Linked DNA regions of Homo sapiens: all the other regions are linked to region 2. Evidence: promoter capture Hi-C in 16 types of primary human blood cells and fetal thymus (Javierre and others, 2016). All regions are on one chromosome and are shown on one strand. The core of a region is centred on a gene start or on the middle of the fragment in contact, and the rest is flanking DNA. Distances in the headings are between cores, read along the strand shown.

Region 1 (2,700 bases), core at 97-2,596, 1.4 Mb before region 2:
AATTGGAATTGGCCATGGCCTGGGGACTGTTGATTCTAAATGTACAGCAAAGTTTGGGCACCACTGATCTTGGCTCTGAGCTATTTAAGCTAAAATTCCTGAAATCTGTCTAAAAGTTTCCTTTCCTCTAGCAAGTTCTGAAAAGAACCTTAAATGTTTTCTACTTTTCTATACTATTTTATCCACCCAAATTCCAAATTTCCAGTATATAGATTACCATTTGACTTGCATCTGCTCTTAAAATCGGGCACAGGATCAGATTGTCTATAAAATGCAGAAATTGTACCAGATGGTTTATACAGTTTCTTCCCACTTTGAATTTATATAGTTCTAAAATAAATAAATAAATAATACCATCTGGCTTATCAAGCACACCTAGTGCCCTTCAGTTCTCCTTCACTACCCTCCTTTTTCTAGCAAGTTGAAGCACATACAATTTGCCAATATTTGACCATTTTAAACTTAAACAGCCATCATTTATCCTAACATTTTTCTCCTACTTATCCTTTATACTGGAACCTTTTCATGTAACAGAACCCAAACTAACCTATTTCTTTCTTGAAAATGCCACTGAAATCTCTCAATTCCCTGTCCTAACTTAGAAAGATACTATGAAAAGAAAGGAGCCGATTCCTGAAGACCAGGCATATGTTTTTTAAAAGTTGTACCTACAGTTATAAGTGAGGCAGAGCTATTAAATGAAGTTAATGTTTATAAGTTTTCCATATAAGAATTAACAGTGACTACTTAAATAGCACAAATTGTTAAGTTCAAAGAGTACTCCCCTAAGCAAAACTAATGGGTACCTTGCTTTTTAAACCTAGAATATACTGTGAGAATTTTCTATGTTATATATATATATATATCACCAAGTTAAAAACCCAAGCTTCCAAATAATTTCTAGAGTATGATACCATTTTTAAAAGGTTGTATAACTTATAATACCATTATAAAAAGCTATACTGACTACTTCCTGTAAAATAACTGCCAATTTCAAGGAGTTTATCTCATCGCCCTGTTTCCTTCACAGTATTATAATCTGTAATCGCCTTACCCCTGCTTGAATGTAAGCTCGCTGTCTGACAGCAGGGAAGTTTTGACTTTTGGAGAGAACTTTTGTCTTTTCACTGCTATACTGCCAATCCCTAGAAAGTATCTCTAGCACATAGAAACTCAATAAATTTGTGGAATATGCATAGGGAAAAGACCAGTAGGCAATGTTAACCTTGACAGTGTTGGTGATTTTTGTGATTTTTTTTTTAAGATACCTTTTTCCGTTTACCATGTTTTCTGTTTAGAGCATACATTAATTTTATATTTAAAGCAAAAGTTATTTCAAAATAATCATTTGAATTAACATTTTCCATTTTGTTAAAATGCTTTTAATCTTAATTTTAAAAGATCTTAAAGATCTTCTTCAATTACATCAAATTTCAGGTCATCAAGAACTAGCAACAACATTAATTTCAAAGCAATTATACAAAAATAAATCATTAAAATATATGTGTTATGATCTAAGTATAAAGTCTTATCTAAATTGTGAAAAAATACTGAACATTAAAGCTACATCAAGCTATGCTGTGTAGGGAATTTCTGAATATGAGTCTTCTTAACTCCTGATCTCAGTACTGACTTCAAACCTCATCCAAAGACTCAGTTTACTGACTGGAGCTTTGCCACTCTCTGGACCCAGCAACTCTCATGTTCTCAGAACCACCCAGAAAGAAGGCAGAAGCTCTGCTCACCCTCCATCATTTGTTATGCTATAGGAGAACACAGAAAAAACAAACAGGCAGATGAAGCTTGTAGGGATTTCTTAGTGTAAGGTTAAATGTAAGCTTATAGCATCAATACATTTTTTACTATTAACTGTTTTATTATTTAACTAACTTAGCTTCTTAGTATGTGCTAAAGAGACCAGTGCTTTAGGCTTACTCTTCACCTGAACCATTTATATTTGCTGACCTTGTGATCCCAGACTGGCCACTCCACCCAAGGCCAGTTATCCTAAAAGTACAGACAGCACTGGTCACTGATGGAGCTAGGGGTGTACATTTAATAAGAAGACTTTGTAATGAGATCACCATATTCACTACCAACCAGTACTGGGAAAACATCATGGCTCATGGTGGAAACACAACAGAAAGTTCTTGTTAAGACTGTAATGTATTTTTTTAAAGAGGCTCACTCATCAATTTGACATTGATTCTGCAATATGTAATACAATCTAATTCAAGGTATGTTCATAATGCATGATAATCTTTTTCTTAACTCAAAGAAATAAAGAGAATTATTGTCAATTAATTAGGATTTATGGCTATCTCTTGTTTCCCAACCTTTTCATAGTCATTAATTTTTAATAACATTACATAAAACTATACGGAATGCTTTTCTTAAGTTTTTGTCTGAACCATTTCATGCAAAAGGGTTGGTTATAATTTTATTGCATTTGGAGAATATGTTTCAGCCTAACCCAAAATAAAAACAATGCAGTAAATACAAAATTCACTTTAGCAGGTAAGGCACCTGAAAGAGATGAGAAATCATCCTCCTAAGGAGCTGACACCGAGGTGTAAGGAGAGGCCTTAAACTGCTGATCAAGAGAAGCACACCCTGTGTATTCAAATGCCTGATGCAGAAAACAAACAGTATTTTCACGTATCACTCTCAAATTAAAAAATACAAAAACAGACATTCAGA
Region 2 (2,700 bases), core at 161-2,660:
ATCGCTTGAACCCGGGAGGCAGAGGTTGTAGTGAGCCGAGATCGCGCCATTGCACTCCAGCCTGGCAACAGAGTGAGACTCCGTCTAAAGGAAAAAAAAAAAAAAAAAAGAAAAAGGAGAAAGAAATGGGATAAAGAAAATTCTTTTTCTTTCTTGAGACAAGGTTCACTGTGTCACCCAGGCTAGAGTGTAGTGGCACAATCACGGCTCACTGCAGCCTCAACCTCCCAGGCTCAGGTGATTCTCCCACCTTAGCCTCCCAAGTAGCTGGGACTACAGGCACCTGTGACCACGCCTGGCTAATGTTTGTACTTTTTGTAGAGATGGGGTTTCACCATGTTGGCCAGGCTGGTCTCGAACTCCTGGCCTCAAGCCATCCTCCCGCCTTGGCCTCCCAAAGTGCTGGGATTACAGGCATGAGCCATCGCGCCCGGCCAGAAAATTACATCATTAGGCTTGTACATGGAGGAGTTAGTAATGCCTGAAATTTTTCCTCTTTGTAGAATTCAGGGTCAATCCTGTTGATCCTGTGTTTTTTTAAGGACCAAATCACCATCGTCTCCTGAGGATAACTCGACAGACACAATTAATTCATTAATGTAGATATTATCTTTCTTTTGATGGTCACAGGAGAAGTGCCTTGAATTGAAGCTTTATCTCTTCCATTGTCACCATCACTAGGCAGGTGAGGCTGACAGGACCGCGTGGCTTAAGGCAACGCCTCGGGAGGGAGCAAAAATGCATCCACTGTGGAGATGAGGTTTCGGTTGCCTCCATTCTTTAAATAGCGCAAACCCTCACAATGTCAAAAGAATCATATTTGAATTCGAACTGCAAGTAAGGAAATCGAAGTATACTAGAATTGATTTCCAGCCTGAAGGCGGATGCTGAATTCAGACCAGCAGTGACACTCCAGGATTTCCACGGTAGTTCATTAAAGGAGGAGAATCTGGGACTAAACAGACAGAGTCTACACCCGCTTATCCTGCACCAAAAAACGCCGAGATGTTCATCGGCATCGCGTTAGTCACATTAGCAGCAGCAATCGCATTATCAAAAACTGCAACACGCATGTAAATAATAGCTACTTTTCCACCACGTGTCGTCGGCCGGCAGTGGATGCCCCCTGTAGGATCCCTATAAGATGCCTTACAGTTCCCCACGGACATCTGCCCAGGCGACTGGGAGTCCCAGGCCCCACCCCACCCTCCAAACCCCTTCTTTGGCGTTCAATACCCCGCGCTCACCGCGGTCTCTTGCTGCCCCCTGCCAGGCCCCTAGCGTCGGGCTGCGAAGGGCTGAAGTACCGCCACGAGGGGGCGCAGGACCAACGACATCACCTCTGCGCGCGACCCGAGGCCGGAAGTTAGTCTTTTCCACTTCCGCTCCTCCTAGCCGCTCCGGACCCCAGAGGCGGAAGTAAAAGCGAACTACAGTGGATGGGTGCAGTTCAGGGTGAGATTGGGAAGGTGGTGAGGCTGTGCTTTCCTTTCTTTTTGTTAAGAAGTGGGTGTGGGTGACTGCTGTACAGTGCAGCCCTTTGCAGATTTGTCTTTGGAGGAGGAAGAGGGATGGAAAGAGCCTTCGGTGTGGAATTACCTTGGTTTTGAGTTAAGAAAGACCCACCTGGGTTCGAACCCTAATGCTTCAGCTAGCGAAGGCAGGCTAGTATGGGAGCTCGGCGCTGTTTCAGATTTTGTAATTTTAAGGCTTATGCCTACCTTTTAAATTGTTGTGGGGAGTAAAGCGAGACAATATATATGAAGCACTTAGCTTTGGTACAAAACGTATTCGTGATTCCGCTACCTTTTCCCATCATATGTAGGCATGTACTTGCCGTTTTCTTTTCTGTATGTCTGAGAAATGTTGTTTGCAAGAGGTAATGCATCTCACGAGAACATAATGCAACGAGAACGTTAGCTGGGATCGATCTCTTATTTTGTATTAGGAAGGCCTGAAATATTTTGCCTTTTTTTTGTGTGTGTGTGTCATTTCCAGAGATAGCTGTTCTCCAGCCTTTCTGGAGGGATGCAGAGCCTTTCCTTAGGACAAACAAGGTGAGAAATGCATGTAAAGATCTCCAAACTTAGCTTGCTGTATCAAAAGAAGACCAGCTGGAATGTGGTATTTTAGGGCCAGTGATTAGTTATTTCCATTAACAGCCTTTTTAACAGGCCAGTTGTGGGGCAGAGGCGAACGTAAATCTTTTTTTAGACCCCTCATACTACAAGCATAGAAATTTTCAGTGTTTGTTAAGTTTGAACATTAGCCCTTTGGATAATGGTTTTGGTTAATTAAAAAGTCAATTTGAGAAATAGATCGAAGTCAATTTTTGAATAGGTACCATTTTTGAAATTTGTACGTGAGGAAAGTTGCTAACTTTCTTGTATTAGGCTATTTAGATGTTCATTTACCCTACTAGATATTATGAGTATTTTGAATGGAGATCCGTTGCTAAGAGTAAAGCATCATGGAGAATTTTGAAGTGTGACTTTTTTGGTACTAGAAACCGAAAAATAGATAAAGATAATTTGTATTTTCCATTGTTTTTCACACCAAAGGCCAGTTTTACTTGTTTAAATTTTTTCATCTGACTGCAAAGTAACACATATTCATTAAATAAAGTCCCAGTATTTCAGAAGTAGTACATAGCCTCTAATAATCTTTCAGAAATAAGTGTCATTCCACTTTCCCCCTCTG
Region 3 (2,700 bases), core at 179-2,678, 1.7 Mb after region 2:
TGTTTTGTTTTGCTTTTCCATTAAATAGCCTCTAAGCTTTGAAGCAACCAAGAGAGAATCGGAGTAAAAAAATTATAGGGTTAAAGAAAGAAAAAATAAACAGATCAATAAAATGAAGAAATAATAAAGTGGAGAAAAGGAAGGATGGGGAGGTGGTTTAGAAAACAAAAAGGGTTCCAAGCAGCGGGGCTGTTAAAAGGACCAGAATCTAAGTCAGGAGGTTGGGGGTGGGGGTGGGGGTGGGGCAGGAGTCTGAATTCTTTTTCTCCTATACTGATGAGCGATAATTAACTATGGCCTGGACTGTCTTTCCATCTAAAAAACTAACTGCCCGAGGAGTAAAAACTGACACCAATCCTTCTCCACGGGGTGGGAGAGATAATAAATGGAAATCTTCCAACAAAAATGCTCTTTATCTCTCTGCTCTATTTTAAGAGCAAGATTTTTAGGGCATAATTTTCAACAAGTTTTGGCTGAGGCTGAACACAGGGTTCAAAGATAATTTAGGACAGTCAAAGAAGAGGCCAATTACTTTCTAACAGAAATGGCCTAAACACCACGATTACATTACTGGGAAATAAACCAAATGACTGCTAGAAATACCTGTTCGCAAAGCAGCACTGCATGATCTTCCATGAAATGCCCTGCATCAACCCAAAGTAGCAGGGAGACTATCAAGGGGGCGAAAGTAACCTGCCTGTCCTTTCCTGCTGGGACACATCCTACCTGGGACAATGTCTCCTTGCCTTCTTTCTCCTGGGCCCAACCTCAGGACTTGCCCTTAGCTCTAGGAACCAAGAGGAGGAGGAGGGGGAATCAGTGGAACAGACACCCTTCTCCACCCTTCTCACTTTCCACCTTAAGGTGCCAGGAGATGAGGGACCCCGCAGCTCAGGGCGGACGCCCGGTGAGGGCGCAGAATCGGGGAGGATGGATGCAGCGCGTGGCGCAGACTGCATCTTGACCCTCAACTCCGCCGCCGCTACCTTCTTTCGCGCTCCTCCCCGACCCGCTCACCTCCGCGCCCCCCGCGCCCTCCACGCCGGGCAGGGGCGAGCCTTGCAGCTCCCCGGGAGCGGCGCCGACTCCCCAAGGGCCCACCCGGGGGCCAGGGCCTACGGACTGCACCTCCGACTGGCGGTTGCAGGGTGGCTGCCGCGGCGGTCGCACTCCAGCTGCTTCCCCGCCTACCCAAGCTGGATCGCGAACAGCCAGGGGAGAAGGAAGGAGGGAGGCGCGCGGAGGCCGGCTTGGCAGCGACGCGCCGCTAGGGGCTGCGTGCCCGGACAGCTCGTGGCGCCGAGGGCCCGAGGAACGCTGACTGGAGTCGGGAAGAGCCGTGGAGCGCGGGGAGGAGTCGGGGAGCTCGGAGGGGGCGGGGGTGTGTGAAGGGAGCCGGGCTGTGTGGAGGGAGCTGGGAAGGGCCCAGAGCACCGAGGGGGAGCCAGCAGTGAGTGCACTGGGGAGCTCCACACACGCGGCTCCGCAGCTTTGCGCGCCCTTCTACCGCGAGCGGCTGAGTATCCGCCTGGCTCCCCTGCGGGGTTCCTCCGTGGTCTTCCGGAGATTCTTTCTGAAGCAGCTTTAGAATAGTCAAGCCTATTTTTCTACTCCATTTCTTTTTGTAATGTGGGGTCACCTTTCCGCTCTAGAAATTGCTTTTCTTACGCGATTCCCACCCCAACTCTCGCCAAGGGCCCTGGTTCTCATCTCCCCAGTCTTAGCTTCTGACAAGCCTCCAAGAAACTGCGCTTTTTTCTTTTGTAAGTGTTCTTTTGCCTCATGTTTACCCTATCCCAAACGTCTTTTGACTAGACTGTGTCCTTGGAATAAAATGTTCGGAAATGCCCTTTCATGAAAACTCCCTCGGATAGGAGGACCCTCACAGACCCTGGACTGCAGAGATTATTCTGTTGACTTTGACCTTCACTCTAGCTGGTGCCGCGCGAGCTTTGGTGTGGGGGAAAGGAAGGTTAGGCCGTGAGTCAGGAGACCTGTGTTCCTGCGAAAGCCATTTACCTTCTGGGGCCGCAATGGCTTTGAATGTTTCAGGGGATCCCCTGAGAGCACCTTTGGCTCTGGGTTTCTGTAAATTTTCTCCCTGCGGATTACCAAGTAAAAGTACCTTTTATCTTTTGTGTAGAAGGTGTCAGTAGAAGAAGCAAGAGATCTTTATTCCCAAATATAAAATCAACTTACCAAAAATTCTCAAATTTGGGGAAATTTTTTTCATACATTAGTAAAGTACCATTTCAACAAATTAAGTTTAAAAATTATCCCTCTAGGTGGTTTATTAACCAGACCAAAAAAACCCAACAACAACAACAACGAGAGGGGGGTCTTAGATCGATCACTGGGGCACTGCACTTTCCCCTTTGTAGTCCATACACAGATTAACCTTTGTAAATGCTGCTTTGGAAATACATCCTTTGTTTGACTTGAAATGTAACCCCTCCCCTACCGCCAAATATTATTAAGGTTTAAAGTTTAGGCAGAAGCTAAGGTTTTAACGATGTGTCAGGGTGTGGAACCATCGACAGCTGGTAGAATACTTTCCATTTTGGTTACTGGAAACAAGTCATTAAATCTAATATCAATTTTAATAATTTCACTTCAACAAAACTGTCAAATAATGAGATTCGTGGAGTTTTTTCTAGTAGTTCCTCTGGAGAACTTGTGGAGAAAATTCATGAATCTTAG
Region 4 (2,700 bases), core at 186-2,685, 1.3 Mb after region 2:
TCTGTAACACTCATGTGCATCCCAGGGTTTTATTTTAAGGAATTAAGTACCTTTATGTTTAATTTCCATTAACACTTTCGTTAACATGGATGACATTTAAAACAAGTGAAACAAAGACTAGGCAGCTTCCTAGGGACTCGCAGGGGTTATCTTTTGTGTCTATAGCATTCTCTTGCTCAGGGCAGTTACATGTTATTAGTGAAAGTTGTGACAGTAGGGGAGGCAGCTAACTCTTCAGGTTAAAAGGGGTTTTCTATGCCCAGTACTCAAAATCTAACAAACCCATTCCACGTGATACTGCTGTCACCCTATTACAACCTGTGACATGCATTTATTCGTCACTGTCCTAAACACTGTTGGTCAGTTGGTTTGTTGTTTGGTTTAAAGACAACAGCCCCTGAGCTCTATTAAATGGAACAAGTTCGAGAGACATTCCTAAATGTCCAGACAACTCCACAGCGCGCATTTCTCTCCAGCAGCGGGAAGATTCAGAGACCTCGAGACTGAACACCCAAATCTCGCTTTCCAGGACCCGAAGTACCGAACAATAGGTCCCAAGGTAACTGTCCCACTTCCCTTTAGGTTGGATACGTTAAACAATACCAGGGCACAGTCTAACGTTTCACCAATTTCCAAAGCTAAATTACTGACTAAACGCCCAATATCCAAGCCTGTGCGCAAAAAATAACAAGTGGCCCAAGCAGCCGCGCAGCCCCTTGCGCGGTGGGGGCCGAGGGGTCCCCTCGCCCGTCCCCCACGCGCGCGAAAGGGCGAGCACTAGTGGCGGAGGAGGGGAGAACCCATATTGTAGGCTTGAGAGAATCTACAAATGAACCCCCAGATCCTGAGGAAGAGGGGTCTCTTTCCTTTACGTCCTTGCCCTCCCCCGGGTCCCTAGCACTGTGCCCTCGATCCCCGCCTACAACGCACCCCACGCCAGCCCCGCTGGCAGCTGCATGGCTGGTGCCAGGAACGCGGCGGGGGCGCAGGCCGAGGGGAGCGGGCGCTGGGGGGGCCGGGGGCAGCGCGCTACTCACCAATGCGACTGAAACTCTCCGACAAAGTTCTCCGCAACTTCTTCATCTTGCCGATCTTCTCGGCCGGCTGCGGCTCAATGAGGTCACACATCTGGGCGACGCGGAGCCCCGACAACTTCCCCAAACTGGTCCAGGCACAGCTCAGACAACGGCGAGGGCGCGCGCCGCGGGGAAAGCGGCGCCTCCTCCTCCACCACCTCCTCGGCGGGCCGGGAAGCGACGCGCAGGTCTAGGGAGGCGAGCAGCAGGCAGGCGGAGGACGGCAGGCTCCGCTCCGGCCTGGGCCGCAGCTGGGCGGGCGGGGGCGGTTTACGTGGTGCCGGGGGCGGCCGCGCTCGCCGCCGCCGTGGTGGCCCCGCGCCGCGCCGCCGCCGCCCGGCTCATTTTCCCTCCTTTGTAACGGAGAGAAGCGCGGCCGGCAGGGGGAGTGGTGCGGCCGAAGGAGGAGGCGGGGCGGGCCGGGTACAAGGTGCGGGAGTCGCCTGGCGCCGAGTGCGCGGGGCGAGGGCGAGTGGGCCGGCGGGAGAAGTTCTCAGCCCAGAGTTGCGGGCGCAGCGCAGAAGGAGCCGCGGCGCGGAACCGCCAGCCTGACAGCTCCTGCTGCCCTCCTGCTGCCGCCGCCACGCCCCTCCCTCGACGAAGGCCCCTGGGCGCGGGATCCTAGCACGACCTCGGCTCCCCGCTCGCCTCCCGCGTCCTCCGCGGCCCTCTGTGTCTGGCTCGCGCCCCGGCGGCGCCCCCTCCCGGCCGCGCCCCTCCCGGCCGCCCCCGCGCTCCTCCCCCGCCCCGCCCGCGCGCGGGAGGATCACGAAGGGACCGGGGTGGGAGCGGGCAGCGTCTGGGGACAGCGTGTTGGGCTGTGGGGAGGTTACCGAAAGGAAACGGGCCGAGTCCAGTTGTTTGAGCGGTTTTCTCCTTCCACGAGCGTGTGTGAAAAAGCGCGGAGTTCGGTGGAGGGCAGCTGCCAGGACTGCCTCCTGGACTGGGTGCGGTAAGGCCTTAGGGATGCATTCAGATGTAGGGTGCCTTATTTTGGGCCGAGAAAGCTGTCAAGTGAAAGATCCAAGGGGAAAGGTGGGCCTGGATTTTTTTGTTGTTGTTTGCGGTGGGTTTTTTGTTTGTTTTGAGGTCAAGTGCAGAAGCAGCGGAAGCTTCAACTGTAACCCTCCAGAAGGCAGGGATCATGCTGTTTCCCTCATCCTTGTCTCTGATCTTGGTGACACATGTAGGTGATTTCTGATAGGAATACCCAGTTCTGCAGTAAATAGCAGACACAGCCCTTGGTCTTTTTCTATTAAATTCTTAGAATATATTTCTGAATTGGGAGATTTAAAGGCTAAACAGATTCCGACCTCCTTTTCCCCCACCTCAAAAACAGAACTTTAAAAAGGAGTGGGGGAGGTGTTTATAAAATCCCAGGACAAACAGTTCCAGCAGCGAACACACATCGTCTTCATTCTGAAAAAACCTGGTGCGGCGTGAGTTCCAAACGTCAGTCTCCCAGGGGAGAGAGAAGGAAGGTGGGGGAGGGCTTGATTGTGTTGATCTGAGGCCAGCAAACTCCTTATGAATAGAAACGTTAGTAATCTTGAGTCATTTGGCTGTGTAAGTAATAAGAGCTTGTGAGGGTGTGACAATGCTGTTTGGCTTGTAGGAAATTTTG
Region 5 (2,700 bases), core at 17-2,516, 1.2 Mb before region 2:
CCAAAGCAAACAGTAAGATAATGCAAGACGGTTGGAGGATCACATTTCTGAATAAAGGTCTGACCTTCAACTCCCTTCTAGAAAAGTTAACAAACCCTACAGTTTAACACCAACCAGAGTTAAAAAATGTATGTGGGTTCAATCAGTAACAAATAGTGTTTCCTACTAAGATGCTCAGAACCAAATTTTCAGGTCAGTTTTTAAAGTATACGGAATCAAAACCAGTAATTTTAGGTACTAATTTTACTCCCTCATTTCACCTTTTCTCCCCCTACCCTTATTTAGCCTTCCCCATGATTTCTTTACCTAAGGGTTTTAATATATGTGTGATCCTATATTACTTTCTAAATTACCTAAAAAACATTTTGGAACGAGAGGGTATAAAGAAATCATTAATATGTAAAATATCTATGAACAGTGGCATAAATACCTATGAATGCTGGCATATATTTTCTCCAAGAGTGACATCATCAACAATTTTTTTAAAATAATGTATTGAAAGGCACAGCTATCAATAATCTGACAAAAGCTTTAGGGGAAGAAGTGTGAAAGTGTAACCTGTTCAATGACATTTGAAATATTCATAGTGTCTCTAGTAGAGAAAACAGTCAAAAGTCACTTCTTTATTATTTGCTTACTTTCCCAACCAAATGTTCAGGCCCAGTTCTCCATCCCCCACACTCTTATATGAGAACCTGACTTTACGTTTTCACATATAATGGTATGTAGTTCTTGCATGAATCAAATAATCCATCTAATTCACCAGTCTCATAATCTAGTTTATGACATATCACCAGAGACTAAGGACTGTGTCTGTAAAACTGTGAAAGGTCCAAGTTGATGAAGGAAGTCAGGGAGACCCTAGGAAAAGGGTACTGGTGGGAAGCGGCGAGATGGGGGATGAGAGCCATAGGTATGAGGCCTCAGGAGCCAGCGCACGCTAGCAGCACAATAATCGGGGACCCCTGCTTTATGTGTTAAATAGTGTGGGTGCAACAAAAGTGAGCATACTTTCATAGGGTGGAGTAGACGTGACTCAGTAAATGGATACAAGAAAGTGACTCAGATAGAATGGTTACTAGACGAGGGTGTAGTCAGTTTTTAGACAACTCTAAAACCAGTATTGAATCAACACTGAGTGGGATGCAGAAGTCAAAAGTTCATAATCTGAGACTGCAATAATAAACACCTAGTAAAACTTTAGGACCTCACATACCATTGAATTCACAATTATCCTTGATTCATAACACACCATCATCTTTTTTATGCAAGTATCTCTTTTATTTTATTCATCCGTTTTATTTTCTAATGTATTTTGGAGGCATTATTGGCTTTTTAAATACAGTATAACTTGTATACAATGAACAAACTTAAGGGTAAGCCTTTATGAAATTTTAATATGTACTTATCTGTGCAACCGCTAGCCATATCAAGATATAAAATATTTCCATCACCCCTTCCCAGAAAATATCCACCCCCCAACATCAGTCTGACTTCTATGACAGATTACTTTTGCCTATTCTTAAACTATATAAGTAGAATTCTACAATATGTTTTCTGTTGTAACTGGCTTCTTTCACACAGTATGATGTGATATTCATTCATGTTGTTGCCTGTATCAGTACTTTAATAATTTTCATGAGAATTGCAGATCCAAAGAGTAGGTATATATTTAACTTCACAAAAACTGATAGTTTCTTGAAGTGGCTAAAACAATGTACATTCCCACAGACAGCATATGAGAGCTCCACTGACTCCACATCATCACCAACATTTGGCATTAACAGTCTTTAATTTTAGCCATTCTGGTAGGCATGTAGTATTATCTTGTTGTAATTTTACTTTGCATTTCCATTACGGTAAACATTTTGGAACACTTCTAATTGCACTTCATTAGACCCGCCCCTGTGACTATGAAAATCCCCACTGGTTTTCCTCCTCCCGGTAGGCCAAGTCTAATCCTTAAACCCAACCCCAAATCAACAAATGCCCCCAAAGCTTACATAGACAGGGATCTTTCCTCTCTGGAATTTTAGTTCATCCAGTCCTTGTCATCTGGTCTATTGATGACTTTGTGATTACTTAAAAATATGAGTTTTGCAATTTTTCAGATTTTGATCTCATGGTTGCAGTGGGTGAATAGGTGGCCTTTTGTGATCTCCTACATCACCCTGGAAGTGAGACTTCTTCGGTTTCTTCTAGAGTCAGTTTGGTAAGCTATATTTTTTAAGAATTTGCTCAATTAATCTCAGTTTTCAATTTATTCAGTTAAAGTTGGTTCATTTTTAAAGTTTCTAATATTGCTTATTTGTGCCACCTTTCTTTTTTATTTTTTGGTTAATCATTCCATGGATGTGTCAATTTTATTACTTTTTATCTAAACAGCTCTTGGACTTCACTGAGTCTCTCTTGTCATTTTGTTTTCCACTTTATAAATTCCTGCTCTTATCTTTATTTTTCTCATTCTTCTTATTTCAGTTTTATTCTGTTATTCTTCTTTCAATTTATTAAACTGGCATTAGGTTCATGATTTTCAGTCATTCCTCCTTTTTTAAAAAACTATACTTTAAGTTCTAGGGTACATGTGCACAACGTGCAGCTTTGTTACATATGTATACATGTGCCATGTTGGTGTGCTGCACCCATTAACTTGTCATTTACATTAGGTATATCTCCTAATGCTATCCCTCCCCCCTCCCC

Evidence for each region. The method cuts DNA at HindIII sites, captures the fragments that hold promoters and counts their contacts. A CHiCAGO score of 5 or more calls a contact.
Region 1: a contact is called between a fragment that was not itself captured here and the fragment with the promoter of MTERF1 in region 2, in 2 of 17 cell types (total CD8 T cells and fetal thymus). The highest score is 5.8, in total CD8 T cells.
Region 3: a contact is called between the fragment with the promoter of STEAP2-AS1 here and the fragment with the promoter of MTERF1 in region 2, in 1 of 17 cell types (monocytes). The highest score is 5.1, in monocytes.
Region 4: a contact is called between the fragment with the promoter of CDK14 here and the fragment with the promoter of MTERF1 in region 2, in 1 of 17 cell types (total B cells). The highest score is 5.2, in total B cells.
Region 5: a fragment that was not itself captured here is called in contact with the fragment with the promoter of MTERF1 in region 2 in 1 of 17 cell types (fetal thymus); the score reaches 6.2 in fetal thymus.

What each region holds. Positions count from the first base shown.
Region 1 is chr7:93,240,645-93,243,344 of GRCh38, reverse strand. All of the region lies in intron 2 of VPS50 (VPS50 subunit of EARP/GARPII complex), which reads right to left. Among named protein-coding and RNA genes, the nearest start is that of VPS50, 9.6 kb to the right of the region's middle. The HindIII fragment of the contact is 916 bases long and covers 889-1,804 here.
Region 2 is chr7:91,879,412-91,882,111 of GRCh38, reverse strand. It overlaps MTERF1 (mitochondrial transcription termination factor 1), which reads left to right and starts at 1,410. Exons shown (of 3, transcript NM_006980.5): 1 at 1,410-1,455; 2 at 1,999-2,057. The coding sequence starts at 2,029. It overlaps LOC112267986 (a long non-coding RNA gene), which reads right to left and starts at 1,310. Exons shown (of 2, transcript XR_002956514.2): 1 at 1,248-1,310. The HindIII fragment of the contact is 3,297 bases long and covers 654-2,700 here.
Region 3 is chr7:90,210,363-90,213,062 of GRCh38, reverse strand. It overlaps STEAP2-AS1 (STEAP2 antisense RNA 1), which reads left to right and starts at 1,428. Exons shown (of 3, transcript NR_110029.2): 1 at 1,428-1,763. It overlaps STEAP2 (STEAP2 metalloreductase), which reads right to left and starts at 1,323. Exons shown (of 6, transcript NM_001244944.2): 1 at 1,018-1,323. RefSeq lists a silencer at 1,161-1,220. The HindIII fragment of the contact is 5,296 bases long and covers 39-2,700 here.
Region 4 is chr7:90,595,056-90,597,755 of GRCh38, reverse strand. CDK14 (cyclin dependent kinase 14) reads right to left here and starts at 1,435. Exons shown (of 15, transcript NM_001287135.2): 1 at 1,038-1,435. The coding sequence starts at 1,128. RefSeq lists silencers at 798-847, 908-1,107, 1,298-1,607, 1,628-1,827. The HindIII fragment of the contact is 4,165 bases long and covers 1-2,190 here.
Region 5 is chr7:93,114,307-93,117,006 of GRCh38, reverse strand. It overlaps SAMD9 (sterile alpha motif domain containing 9), which reads left to right. Exons shown (of 3, transcript NM_017654.4): 2 at 2,112-2,212. Among named protein-coding and RNA genes, the nearest start is that of SAMD9, 2.3 kb to the left of the region's middle. The HindIII fragment of the contact is 1,469 bases long and covers 532-2,000 here.